Linked DNA regions of Homo sapiens: region 2 is linked to region 1. Evidence: promoter capture Hi-C in 16 types of primary human blood cells and fetal thymus (Javierre and others, 2016). All regions are on one chromosome and are shown on one strand. Each heading gives the region's core, a stretch centred on a gene start or on the middle of the fragment in contact. The rest is flanking DNA. Distances are from core to core; before and after follow the strand shown.

Evidence for each region. The method cuts DNA at HindIII sites, captures the fragments that hold promoters and counts their contacts. A CHiCAGO score of 5 or more calls a contact.
Region 2: a contact is called between the fragment with the promoter of SEMA3F here and a fragment that was not itself captured in region 1, in 1 of 17 cell types (endothelial precursors). The highest score is 5.2, in endothelial precursors.

The regions. Positions count from the first base shown.
Region 1 is chr3:50,227,686-50,234,384 of GRCh38, reverse strand. It overlaps a transcript of GNAI2 not described here. Among named protein-coding and RNA genes, the nearest start is that of MIR5787, 3.6 kb to the right of the region's middle. RefSeq lists an enhancer at 3,599-3,828. The HindIII fragment of the contact is 1,146 bases long and covers 3,221-4,366 here.
Region 2 is chr3:50,151,608-50,158,306 of GRCh38, reverse strand. SEMA3F (semaphorin 3F) reads right to left here and starts at 2,983. Exons shown (of 19, transcript NM_004186.5): 1 at 2,743-2,983. It overlaps LOC124909484 (basic proline-rich protein-like), which reads right to left and starts at 3,637. Exons shown (of 2, transcript XM_047449434.1): 1 at 3,611-3,637; 2 at 2,518-3,246. The coding sequence starts at 3,637. The coding sequence ends at 2,518. SEMA3F-AS1 (SEMA3F antisense RNA 1) reads left to right here and starts at 2,222. Exons shown (of 4, transcript NR_135301.1): 1 at 2,222-2,573. RefSeq lists silencers at 2,999-3,468, 3,499-3,638, 3,649-3,708. The HindIII fragment of the contact is 18,046 bases long and covers 1-6,699 here.

The DNA.
Region 1 (6,699 bases), core at 2,544-5,043:
GAAACTCCATTTCAAAAAAAAAAAAAAAGACCGGGCACGGTGGCTCACGCCTGTAATCCCAGTACTGGGAGGCCGAGGCGGCAGATCACGAGGTCAGGAGATGGAGACCATCCTGGCTAACACGGTGTATTTTGTACTAAAAATACAAAAAATTAGCCGGCGTGGTGGCGGGCGCCTGTAGTACCAGCTACTCAGGAGGCTGAGGCAGGAGAATGGTGTGAACCCAGGAGGCGGAGCTTGCAGTGAGCTGAGATTCTGTCTCTGCACTCCACCCTGGGTGACAGAGCAAGACTCCGTCTCAAAAAAAAAAAAAAAAAAAAAATCAGCTGGGCGTGGTGGCACGTGCCTGTAATCCTGGTTACTCAGGAGGCTGAAACAGGAGAATCACTTGAACCTGGGAACTGGAGATTGCAGTGAGCTGAGATCACACCACTGCACTCTACCCTGGGCAACAGAGCAGGACTCCGTCTCAAAAAAAAAAAAAAAAAAAAAGAACCTTGTTACACATTTTGTTCCAGCTCCCAATCCCCAGGCTGGCTGTTCTCCCTGGAGTGTCTGCATATCCCTATCTGAATGTCTCTCTTGTTGAGGGGTCATTGGCCTGGAAGTCCTCCAATGACTCCCTCAGGCCCCCCTCCTGTCCTGAGACATAGGATATGATGTCCCATGTCCACCACTGCTCTGAAGCTCAAGCAGGCCCTGCCATGGGCATGCAACATGTTGAGGACACATAATGTCCACCAGGGCCACAGATATGCTGTAGACACCCACACATAGGTCAGTCTCCAACATGCCTCAGATCCACAGAACACACTCTACAAAAATGGGTACACATGGCCAAGAATACAATCTGTCCACGCACAGACTACAAACTGGCTTCCAAGGTGGGACCCTCCCCTTCCCTCTACCTGTCACCCTGCCCCAGGCTTGAGAGCTGATCCTCGCTCCTCTGGCCTCTCTAGCCTGCTCCTAGCAACAGCCAACAGCTCTCACAGTTGCCAGGCAACAGGGAGAACCTGTCAGCCCCTTGGAGGCCCAGCTCTCAGTAGGTGGGCGCAACACAGACCCCAATCTATGGAGGCAGGGCAAGATGGGGCTACTGGAAGGCATGGCCTTCCCCAGCCCCAGGCCAGGTCCTGTGGTTATGGCACCCTTCCCGCCAGTCAGCTGCTCCTTTCCAGTCCTATGCTCTTCCCAGGGAGTCCAGCAACCCTTGCTTCCACCCTGCTAGCTGCTCCTTCTCCATCTCCATGGGGTCCCCAGGGCTATGGCCAGGCCTCTGCTTGCCACTCCACTCATACACCTCCCACTCTGGGGGCTCAGAACCCCACAAGGTCCTCTCCAGCCTGACTTCTTTGATTGCCAGCCCCATGTCCACCACTGCTCTGAAGCCTCCCCGAGACACCCAGGCACCTCAAATCCACACTGTCCAGAACTGGGTACATCCCATCCCACTGGCCCCTGTTCCCAGGCTCTCCACCACTTCATGATCCCCCCACCAGCCACAGCAATGACCCCCTCCCCTACCCCTATATGCCATCAGCCTCTTCCCTACCTCAATTTCCCCTCCAATCTGTATTTGTTCTCTGTCCCCACTATCTCCCAGCCTAGGATTCTAACGTCTTCCTTGGCTCTCCTGTTTCCCTACAATTTATCCTCCACATGGCAGCCAAGGGCATCCTACTGAAAGAAATCACATCACCCCCTTGCTCGGAAACTTTCTGTGGTTCCCCAATGCCCTGAGAATAGATGAAGCCCCCACACACACTGGTTTGGACTCTGCAGCAGTTGGAGGCTGTAGGCTGGCAGTTGGAAGCAAAGACTCTGAGGAGCAGTTTGCAAACTTGCCAGCTACTTGTTACTTTGGACAAGTACCAGAAACTCCCTGTACCTCGGTTTTCTTATCAGTAAAATGGGCCTAACGGTTATACATACCCAAAGCACAGGCAGAGGTCAGGACTCCAGGAGGAAACATGTAAAACATGCAGAATGTGCATGGCACATAGAAAGCCCTCAATAAGGGTGAGGTGTTATAGTAGTGATTTCTTTTTTTTTGAGACTGAGTCTGACTCTATCACCCAAGCTGGAGCGCAGTGGCATGATCTTGGCTCACTGCAACCTCCGCCTCCTGGGTTCAAGTGATTCTTGTGCCTCAGCTCCCCAAGTAGCTGGGATTACAGGCGCCTGCCACCACACCCGGCTAATTTTTGTATTTTTAGTAGAGATGGGGTTTTGCCATGTTGGCCAGGCTGGTCTCAAACTCCTGACCTCAGATGATCTGCCTGCCTCGGCCTCCCAAAGTGCTGGATTGCAGGTGTGAGCCACCGTGCACGGCCCTTTTTTTTTTTTTAATAGAGATGAAGTCTCACCATGTTGTCCAGGCTGGTCTCAAACTCCTGGGCTCAGGCAATCCTCCCGTCTTGGCCTCCCAAAGTGCTGGGATTACAGGCATGAACCACTGTGCCTGGCCCAATAGTAGCGATTTCTGTAAGGCTTTATGATTGTCCCCACTCAAGGGTCCACCTCATGTCCCTCCACTTGCAACACACTGGCACTCCAACCATCTGGCTTGCCTTGCTCTCTCCATCCCTCGATCTTCCCTCCCATCCCCCTACCCTGTTAAATTAATCCCTCCTCCCCACCTTTCATTCCCTGGCTGTGAGCTGGGCTTCTCTGAGTCCCATTGTCCTCGGGCTTCCCCTTCCCCAGCCAGATCCCACTATTCTGGTCGTGGGTCTCTCCCACTCATATCCCTAATTCCAGGCCCCTTGCAGGGTGGCAGGTAAATATGTATCAACTTAAATGAATAAGGCCGGGTGCGGTGGCTCGAGCCTGTAATCCCAGCACTTTGGAAGGCTGAGGTGGGCAGATCATGAGGTCAAGAGATCGACTATCCTGGCCAACATGGTGAAACCCCATCTCTACTAAAAATACAAAAATTAGCTGGGCGTGGCAGCGCATGCCTGTAATCCCGGCTACTTGCGAGGCTGAGGCAGGACAATCGCTTGAACCCAAGAGGCAGAGGTTGCAGTGAGCTGAGATCGCACCATTGCCCTCCAGCCCGGCAACAGAGGTAGACTCTGTCTCAAAATCAATCAATCAATCCATCAATCAATCTCTTCATCCTGGAGCTGGGAGCTGCTGCCCCTCTGGAAATATTCATGTAGTTGTATACGCAGAGAAAAGAGAAACCAATAGTGCCTGGGAAGGTCAGGAAGCTTTCTTTGAGGAGGTGATGCAGGGAGTGCTAGAGGGAGAAGAACAGTGCGGAAGAATATTGCAAGAAGATGGAAGAGTACATGCAAAGGTAGGGTGGTAGGTCTGAGAGGCAGGGGTCTGGGGAAGGGCTAGCGAGAAAATTAAGGCTGAGAGCTGAAGAAACAAACCCCTTGCTTTGCAGCTGAGTCAGCTGAGGTCCAGAGTGGGCCAGGAGCCAGTCACAGTCATCAGTGAGGTACATCGTGGGCATCTCAGTTTCTTCATACTCAGGAATCCAGGAGTCCTTTCAGGAGAGTTCATTTTGGGGGCAGAGGGCAGCTGCCTAGCCAGGGCCTCACGAGCACCAGAGGAGGCATGACTTGACCCCATGCCCACCAGGCCCAGCACCGCTTGGACTAGACCATAAAGGACAATGGAATGACATCAGCAGAGTTGAGGGTGGCCCCTCAGCTGGAATGGAGAAGTGGCAGCTGCTGGTTCACCCCTACTGCCAGAATAGTCTTGGGGCTCACCACAGGCAGCACAGCAGGTCCAGCTTGGCCTGAGTTCCTATCGAGCAGTAGCCCTGAGCAGGTTGAGGAATGAAGACCCTCTCAGTGGGCTGTGACATGCTTGCCTGCAGGCTCTAGGAAGGGGAAGCTGCTAGCACTTCCCCAAAGGCAGTTTCGGGGTGGGTGTGCCTGTCCCTGCCCAGAGTCCAGGACTAGGTAGGACCCCACAGGGATGCCCAGAGTTCAGGATCCTGACCACCCTACCTCCACGGCTCCCAGATGACAGGGAGTCCCTGGCCAAGGACCTGTGACCAACTCAATCACAGCCTTGCAGCTACTGCTTGTAGACCTCGTGGCTACAGCTTGCTCCCGCCTTACTGCCCTGGGGCAGGTTCTACTTCCTGGTTCAACTCCTGCGCTTTCCCCTTCCTGCTTCTTAGCCCAGTGGAAGTTCTGAAACTGGAGTCAGCCATCCTGCCCTCCCTCCCTGCTCCCTTGCAGACCCCTCTTCCCAGGCCTCTCTTCGTCCAGGAGGAAAACTCAAAAGCCTGGGGGTCCTGGATCCCAAAGTCCCCCTTTCTGGTCATCCACCCTCTTCACAGATCATTGGCTTTGACCTGGAGAATTCAGGCCCCAGCACCCCTTCCCCATAAGCTTCTGGATTAGGCAAGGGGGCCCAACCTGACACAGGGGTGGCGGCTGGGGGGCAGTGCGGGAGGATCCAGAGGAAGGGGTCATCTGTTCAACCACTGTTCCCTGAACATATTGCCTGCCAATGTGCTGAGAACCCTATGGTAAAAGAGGCAGCTGGGCCCTGTCCTTGAGGAACACACACCAAACAAACAGGGAAATGAACTTCACCATTTCAGAGGAAATCAACAGGGTGACACTAGAGCCACTGGGAGGTATGTGCAGGAGAAGATAGTCTGAGGAGGGGATCTTTGAATCATGTGGAAGGACCAGTCTTGTAACAAGCCAGAAGAGAGTGACGACAGAGGCAGCAGCAAGTGCAAGGGCCCTGGGTTGGGAAGGAGCTGGATGCTCCCAAACCAGAGAGGAGTCCAGCCGGGCCAGAATAGCGAGAGCAAGAGAAGACTGGTGTGAGAGGGGACTGCCATGAGGCATCATGGAGGAACAAGCCACACAGGGGGTTCCAAAGTCTCCAGGGGATGCTGAGGTAGGGGCACCAACATCTCCAAGCCAGTGATCCACACCTAGCCCTACAAACCCAACTGGTTCTGGCATTCAGGGTGTTCCTGTATGACTGGGGAGGAGCTACCCAAGCCCTGCAGGGAACTCAGGAGCTCTCAGGGCTTTGGGGCCAAGGCCTAAACTTAACCTCCCTCCTTTTCTTTGTCCTTGAAGAGTTCATGGTACAACCTGCCACTGTGCCTGTTGCATAGGCAGTCTCCAAAGGCCACCTCCCCTGGGAAGCCCAGGGTCCTTGGGGGGCCTGGGAAATGATAATCAATTCTATTCCCAGGAGCTACTGCTTTGTTCATGTTATTGCCTAGTCCTCCTTGCCATGCTTTCCAAAGGCTGGGGCTGGTAGCCTCTCCCGTGACTCGTTAGGGCTGTCATTAGCACTGCTTCCTGGAATTTAATTTAATGAAGGAGCAAAAACAGCCCTAATGAAGGTGATGCAACAGCAAACAGCCAAGCAAGGTGCACCTTGCCAGCTGGGCTCAGGGGCTTCCTGTAGATTGTGACTAGGAGCAAGGGAGTAATAGGGGAGGAGGGACCTGTTGCGGGAGGGAAGCTGGTCACTGAGTTCTGGACGCACAAGCATCGCTCTGCCTGTACCGTATGGAGCAAATACTGCGATCAAGGCCAAGCAGACAGAGTTAGGGAAGTGGGCCTTGTCAGGAGTGACTTCAGGCTGTTGGAGAAAAAGCTTTTGAAAAGCTATCAGCCAGTGCAAAGGCCCTAATGTGAGGGCCAGCATGGCATGCCATGCCAACAGGACAGGCTGTGGGCTAGTACCAGGGGGCAGGGGTCAGCAGGGGCCAGATCATCCCGGCCATGGGGCAAGAAAGTTTAAATTGCATTCCAAGTATGAAGGAAACAACTGGAGGGTGTTGAAGGCAGAATGACATCATCTGAATTTTTTTTTTTTTTTTTTTTGGAGACGGAGTCTTGCTCTGTCACCCAGGCTTGAGTGCAGTGGCGCGATCTTGGCTCACTGCAGCCTGTCTCCCAGGCTCAAGCGATTCCCCTGCCTCAGCCTCTGAGTAGCTGGGATTACAAGGCGCGCCCCCACGCCCAGCTAATTTTTTTGTATTTTTGGTAGAGACGGGGTTTTGCCATGTTGGCCAGGCTGGTCTCAAACTCCTGGCCTCAGGTGATCCGCCCACCTCGGCCTCCCAGAGTGCTAGGATTACAGGCGTGAGCTACCGTGCACCGTGCCCGGCCAACATGATCTGATTTTTAAAGTTCCTTCTGGTTGCTATGAGTAGTAGAACCTGAGGATAAGAGAGATGGGAGGATAGGAGGTGGGCACCATTCGAGGGAAATGGAGTGAAGCCTGTGGAGACAGGGCTGTCCCGTCTCCGGGGAGAAGAGAGCTGGTGAGGGGGCGGGGAGCAATTATAACGGGAGTGAGTTTTTGTTTCCTCCAGCAGGTTTGGGCGGGCTGGTCCCCATTCAGCCTTCCCTCCAAATGGGCGTGGCTCAGACACCTAAAGATCGGTCTAAAGGGGCTCCCAATGTCCCCGTATCTGCTTTCCCGCCTTTGTGCACCTCTCTACCTCTAGGAAGCCTTCCTTGCCCTGTCCTGGGTCTTGGCCAGCGGTGGGCTCCCCAGGGACCTCACCAGGACGGCATTTTGCGAGGTAAAAAGCCAGGAGGCTCAGCAGTGGACCGAGAGCTGCGCAGGGTGCAACCTTGCAGGGTGCTACCTGCCCTTGGCCCTGCCCACCGCAGCCCCTCCCTAATTCTTATTTTCCCCCTTGTCCACTCCCAGTGCAACCTCCTAGTTCTTCACCTCCCC
Region 2 (6,699 bases), core at 1,734-4,233, 75 kb after region 1:
TGTTCTCTCCCGAGGGCCTGGCACACCGCTCATGGTCCTTCCAGATCCCCTGTCATAGATGCTGCCTCCTGGGGAGGCTAGCTGGGGGATGGGGGAATCAGAACCAGCCCCTCCTCAGGTCTGGGAGGCACAAAGCTAGTGCTGACTGAATGGCAGGCTCTGAGAAGTGGGGGCAGGTGGGAGAAATGGCTGTGCAGCCACCGTCACCCTCAAGGTGCACCTGGGAGGCCCCTGATAACAGCTGTGGATATGCACACGTTCACACTTGCAGGCCCACACACGTCCTTACAAGCATGAGTTTGCTCAAGAACTTGACCTGCTAGTGGGGTGGGGCTCAGGGGAGCTGGGAGATACTGTCCTGGCGCAAGATGCCGTCTGAGTCCCTCAGAGAGCTTCGATACTATGTAACGGGGGCTCCTGTCAACCTGCCTCCCGCCTCCCCCCTCCCCATGACCTCATTTTTTCCTTCATCCATGTTCATGGTGACAAAGTCAGTGTCACCAAGGACAGGGTTGGAGTCACCCAATGTGTCCAGAGAGGTGGGGAGTCTTTCTACTGGGTCCCTACAGGGACTTCCCATCCAAATGCTTTGGCCTTTTAAAGAGGTGAATGGGGAGGGGCTCAAGTTTGCTGGGGCCTCAGTCTCAAGTCCAGGTCCCCTCTTGGACAGCCTGGCAGGTGGGGGAAAGAAGGAGAGGGAAGGAAGAAAAGGAGAAGAAGGACAGAGAGGGAAAGAAAGGGCAAACCCACAGTGCCTTCCCCTCTGCCAGTCCCGAGATGCCTGTCACCCAGCCCCAGCCCCAGAAAAGCCCCCAAGTCACACCAAGCCCAGGTCAGTGGACAGAGGAAGAACAGCCACCGCCACCTGGGAGCCCACCAGGAAGAAAGCAGAGAAGGAGGGAAGGAAGGCTGGTGGGAGGGAGCAAGGGAGGGAGGCAGGCGGGAGGGAGGAGGAGAGAGGGAGGAGAGAGGGAGGGACGGAGGAGAGACGCTTGAACAAAGAAACGAGGAGCCGGGGCTGGCAAGGGGTGCAGGGAAGAGGCGGCCAGAGGAAGGAGTCCGGAGGCACCTGGGATGGGACAGGGGGCCAGGTGGCCAAACTGTACAGCCGGATCCAGACCGCCCAGGCTTGGAGTTGGGGGTGGGGGTGGACAGCCTGTCTCCAGGAAGGGAGGTTGGCTCCTCCGAGCTGAGGACTGCCTGGATGGAAGGGAGGCAGGAACAGGGGCCGTAGGGGAACATGGGGAGATTATCAACAGCACCCCACCCGCTACCCAGCCCCTCAGATTCCCTCCCCCACTTCAACAAGAGCTCTGTCTCCTTCTTGGCTCCTCAGCTTCCCCATCCCCCAACACCTCAAGGACCAGGAAGCAGAGCCACCCCAGCATAGCTGGGACTGAAACCCCCCTTTTGTGGCCAGGGTTTCCCAGTCAAGGTCACCTGAGCCTGGCTCCATCCTCCCCCCAAGGTATGCTGAGCAGCGAGGGGCTGAGGCTGGGTGGGCTGCCGCCTTCTCTCTGGCCCCTGCTTTCTCTCCGGCCCCCACCTCCCCACTTCCGGGCCTGGCTCCTTCGGAGCTGAAGGGGGAGCAGCAGGAGTAGGCATGCCTGTGCCCCCCGCCTGCCTAGACACTATACCCTACGGGGTCCTGGCACACCCCTTGGGTAGCCTGGGAAGAGGCCTCAGCTCCATCCAACTCCCTGGGCTGAGATGGGGCTCCCAACCCCTGGGTGCAGTTTTCCCTTCTCTGCAACTAGGATAACTACTGGGAGACTATCTGGGTGAATTCAGGAGGACAGAGGTCCCCAACCTGGCCCAGCTTCAGGGTGGACATACTGGTGTCTTTGGTTGGCGTCTCCCTTACCTCTCCCAAGCAGTAATGTTCTGGTGGCAAAACACAGCTATCTCAAAAATTAGGAGTTATTTATCCAGTGGGGCCCCCAGCCCCAGCTCCAGCCAACTCCCGCCAGCACTGCCTCATTCCTAGGCCAACTTTGATACCCTCCTGTCCCATCTGCTGGGGGCAACCCCGCCAAGCCCCCGCTGTCCCCTGCCCACTTCACCACTGGGACCCCTGGTTCAAACTAGGGATTGACCGCAGGCTCTCCAAGCTCACCTACACACTACATACAGCCGTGCCCCTAATCCAGGCAGGACTCTGCTGTAAAAGCAAACCCAAGGTGGCAGCTGGGGGTCAAGGGGCTGGCACAATGCTGGGAGAAATGCCTCAGGACTGGAGGTCCTCCCACTCTGCTGATGTGGGAGACCCCCCACGTGGGGACTGCCAGTATACCGCTTCCCTTCGGGCTGGCCAGTCCTCAAGTAGAGACACTGAGGTAGGGCAAGCGCATCTACGGGGAAGAGCGCTGCCTCGGGCGTTAATGGGAGAGAGAGCTGAGGCAGAAGGGGGATCGGAACTCCCGCTCCAGAAGCGTGAAGGTGGGGGTGTATGAGAGCACCCACCCAGAACCTTGCAGGAAAAAGTTGCTTTGCACATGGGTGACCCCGCAGGCCACATCATCCACACATCCATACGCCGCCCCGTAGGTAAGGGGTCCGGGCCTCCAGGACAGGTAAGAATCCCACCCCAGCCTTGTTGCCCCTATGTCCGCGGGCAGCCCCCCGGCTCGACGAGACCCGCTCCCCGGACACTTCTGCGGAGTTGCAGTGCCGCGGGTCCCAGAGGGGTCGCGGGGTGGCCCGGCCGCCTGCCCGCTCCCTCCCGGTTCCCGCTGCACTCACCTCTTCCGCAGCGGCGGGGCCTGGGCGCCCGGGCGGCGGCGGCGGCACGGAGCGGCTCCCGTTGGGCCGGTCCGCGCTAGCGGCCCCCCGGGGCCATGGCCCTGCCCGCGACCTCTCGCCGCTGCGCCTCAGCCGGGATCGGCGCCGCGGCCGCGGCTTAACCGGTTCCGCGGGCTTCGGGCGCGTCAGCAGCCGAGGGCCCGGGCCCCAGCCCGGGCCATGGGAAGGCTCAGGGGCGCTCGGGGCCGCCTCCCCTGGGGTGGGCTGCGGGCGCCCCCTGGCCGGCGCGCCGAGGGCGCATTCCCCAGCGCGGGGCGCGGGCGGTGGCGCGCACTCGGCTTCGAAGCGCTGCGCTCTCCTGGCTGCTGGACCCGGGCCGGGCGGCCGCGCTGGGCTGCACGGTTCCTCGCGGCGTACCCAGGTCCTGCGCTGCGCTCGGGGCTCTCCGGACCGCCGCGGTTCGTTCGCTCGCTCTGGTCTCGCGGCCGCCGGCGGGACGGGGCGCTCAGAGCCGCGCGGGGAGCGCCGGCAATTGGCCGCCCGTGGGCGACATTTGCATAGCGCAGCCCCGCCCCGCCCGGCCCGCCCAGCCCCACCCCCGGGGCGGGACCCGCCCAGCCACCGCCCCGCCCCCGCTCCACCTGTCCGTGGGCCGGGCTCAGGGTTCCCAGGCGGTGGGCACCCCGCGCCGGGGGAGACTAGTCTGCACCCCTCGCCCCCGCCCCCGCTTCGCGGGCGGCGCCCCCGCCCCGCCCTGGCTTTGTCTCTCTGTGAATACACCGCACACATCGCGCCTGGTGTTTACCCGGGCATTCAACTCCCTGGCGAGAAGGGCTGCAGCGCCAGGGAGCAACGAGCCTGCGCTCACCTGAGCACCCCCTTCCGCGTCCCTCATTCCCACTCGCCGCCGGCCGTGCCCCTGGTCCCGTGCGTGGGCCCCGCGGCGCAGGACCCCTGACTGCCCGGGCTGCTCAGCAGGTGGCGGTGCAGCCCCTGGGACGGCTGGCACCGCCGGACCTTCCCGCGGGCTCAGCCTCCAGCCTAGGCCAGGTCGGGGGCAGCCCAGCCACACAGCTCTCTCCAGCCATTCAACGACTCCCCGTGATCGCCTCAATCGCCAGCCCTTATTTCAGGCCAGCAGCTCCCACAGACTCTCCTTATAGTTCCATACCTTAGAGAGGCCAGATCAGCTAGCACCTTCTCTCCTCAAGGGGACATTTGCTTTCAAATGGCCTGGTGATGAGCCAATGGCTCAGCAACTGAGAAGGGCCTACCGTGACCCCAGGAAGGGACCCTCTGCCCAACCCAACTTTCCAAGGTCATGGCCTCACCACCAGGACCACTTCTCAGCCCTGCCCCGGGCACCCTGCGGAGGCTCCCAGGGGCGTTGGCCCTTTGTCCTCTCCTTCATCCTCTTCCTGTTCTGTCTTCTGTGCCCTCCTCTTTCTCCTCTTTCCTTTCTCCTCTTCTCCCTCTGCCTCTCCTTCCTTCTCCCCTCTCTTCTCCCTCTTCCTCTCTCCTCTTCTCCCTCTTTTCCATCTCCCTCCTTTTCCTCCTTCTCCTCTCTTCTCCTGGATTTTTCCTTCTCTGCCCTCTCCTCCTCTCCCTTCTCTTCCTCCACCCCATGCATTTCCTTCTCTTCTTCCTCCTCCTTCTTCCTGCTCTTTACCCTCTTCCTCCTTTCTCTTTTTCTTCTCACTCCTCCTCTCCGCCTTCTTCCTCCTCCCACTTCTCTCCCTGGCTAGCAAGACCTCCAGGAAAAGACCTCTCTCCCTCTGACCCATTGACTGGTTGACTCCAAGTGCAAGGTGGAGCTGGGCACTAGGGATCCTGCTGAGGGTCTCCTGACTCAGGACTTAGAGTGCTGCCTCATGCTCCAAGCACAGGCAGGGCATTTGAGGTGAGCAAACACCATCCTGGAGTTATGGAGCTGCTGTGACAGCACCTGCACCTCTCCCCTTTGTCACGCCTCATTGAAAACACTGTGACAATCCATCTCTCCTCATCCCCACTCATCTGTATGAGGGTCACCCCTGAGGTCACCACCACTGCACCACCATCACCAATACAGCTTAAGCCACCATCTCTATGGCTTCCAACACCATCCCTTCCATCCTCTCACAGCCTCCATGGTCTCCTTATAGCCTGGCCACTTCTATCACTATCTCCAGCATCATTAGCATCATGCTGGTTACCACGGAAGAGCTGTCAGGACTTGCCAGAGACTCCAGTGTACTGGGTTGGGAAGGAAAGAGGCTCAACTGATCTGTTCATGAAGCTCCACTCAGACACACAGAATAGGCCCAGCACACAGAGGCCTTCAATGGCAGGGAGACCAGGGAAGGGGGCCAGGAAGAGGGCAAAGAGCTAGAATTGAGCCTGGCTACATGGGGTGGAATGCCAATTCCTTCCTAAGCAATTCGAGAGGGCTGAATAATCATACAAAAAAAATTGTTATTGCAGCAGTGAATCCACACTGAGCCCTTGCTCTGTGTCAGTGCTGGGGTGAGCATTTTGTATCATCATAATATGTTGTTATAGTTTGTGTGTGTGTGTGCATATACATATCGGCAGACCTCATTTTATTGTGGTTTATTGCGTTTTGCAGATATTGTGTTTTCTGAAGTTGAAGGTTTGTTGCAACTCTGTGTCGAGCAAGTCTATCAGCACCATTTTTCCAACAGCATGTGCTCACTTCATTAGCATTTTTTAGCAATAAAGTATTTTTTAATTAAGATATGTACATTTTTTAGACATAATGCTATCACACACTTAACAGACTACAGTATAGTGTAAACATGACTTTTATATGCACTGGGAAACCAAAAAAATTTGTGAGTTGCTTTATTACAATGTTAGCTTTATTGTGGTGGTCTGGAACCAAACCCGCCATATCTCCGAGGTATATTATATTATTCAGGGGAATATTGTATAGCTTTTCACAATTTTGTCTTCAATTTCAGAGGTCCACAGACCCCTCAAAACCAGCTCTGGATACCAGGTTGGGAGGCATTGCATGCCAGGAAGTTTTGCGGTTATTCACCCCCAGGTGCTTCACAATTGGGCTGAGAAGCAGGCCCTGTTGTCCCCATTGTACAGTTGAGCATGAGGGAGGAGAGTGGGGAGGTAGGGAGGGTTGGGGGAGGCCTGGAGCCACCAGGCTGTGGTGCCTGGAGAAGGCATTTTCAGTGGCTGTGGGAAAGCTCCAGGACAGGAAGGCCAGGCTGCAGGGCCCACATGGAGCCAAGGGCCTGCAACCCTGATAGGCACGCAGGAGCTGGATGCCTGCTGGAGTCCCACAGGGCACTTCTGGAACTCCACGCATCTTTATCATGTGAATAAGAGAGCAAAAATAAGAGAGCAAATCCCTGCAGCACCAGATCGGAGAGGGAACACAGCCAAGAAGCCAAGACTCAGGGAGTCAACTCCCTGCCCTACTCTCAGCTCCTCTGGACTGGCTGCCCCCCACCCTGTGCTCTCCTTGACACCCACAATCCTTCTGTCCTCCTCTCCAGAAGCCACTCTGCTGTTCTAACTCCACCTGAGAACCACCCAGGATGCCCTGTGGCGTCATCTGAAGGGAGAGAGACAGGCTGGCTTCCTACTGGCCTGACCTCCCTCCTGTTGGGTAGGACACTCAGATCTTAGGCCTAAGTTTCATTCAGCCTCCCCCATGGCCCGCCCTGGTGCTAGTCTGGTCACGCAGGTGAAGGGGTGTGTGCAGACACAGCTGGTTAGGCCAGGTCCAGCTCCTGCACTGAATCCACCTCTGGAATACCCTCCTGGGGCAGCCTCCTCCTCCTTCCCAGGTGTGCCCCGGCTGCGTGGGATACACTGCACTCGGATCTGGGTGGACCTGGCTGAGCTTCAGGGTGGACTTCATAGTCTTGAGGTCCTGGAGCTTGTGAGGGGTGACCGAGCCAACAGTGAGGGTTACAACAGGGAAGTCATTGGCCC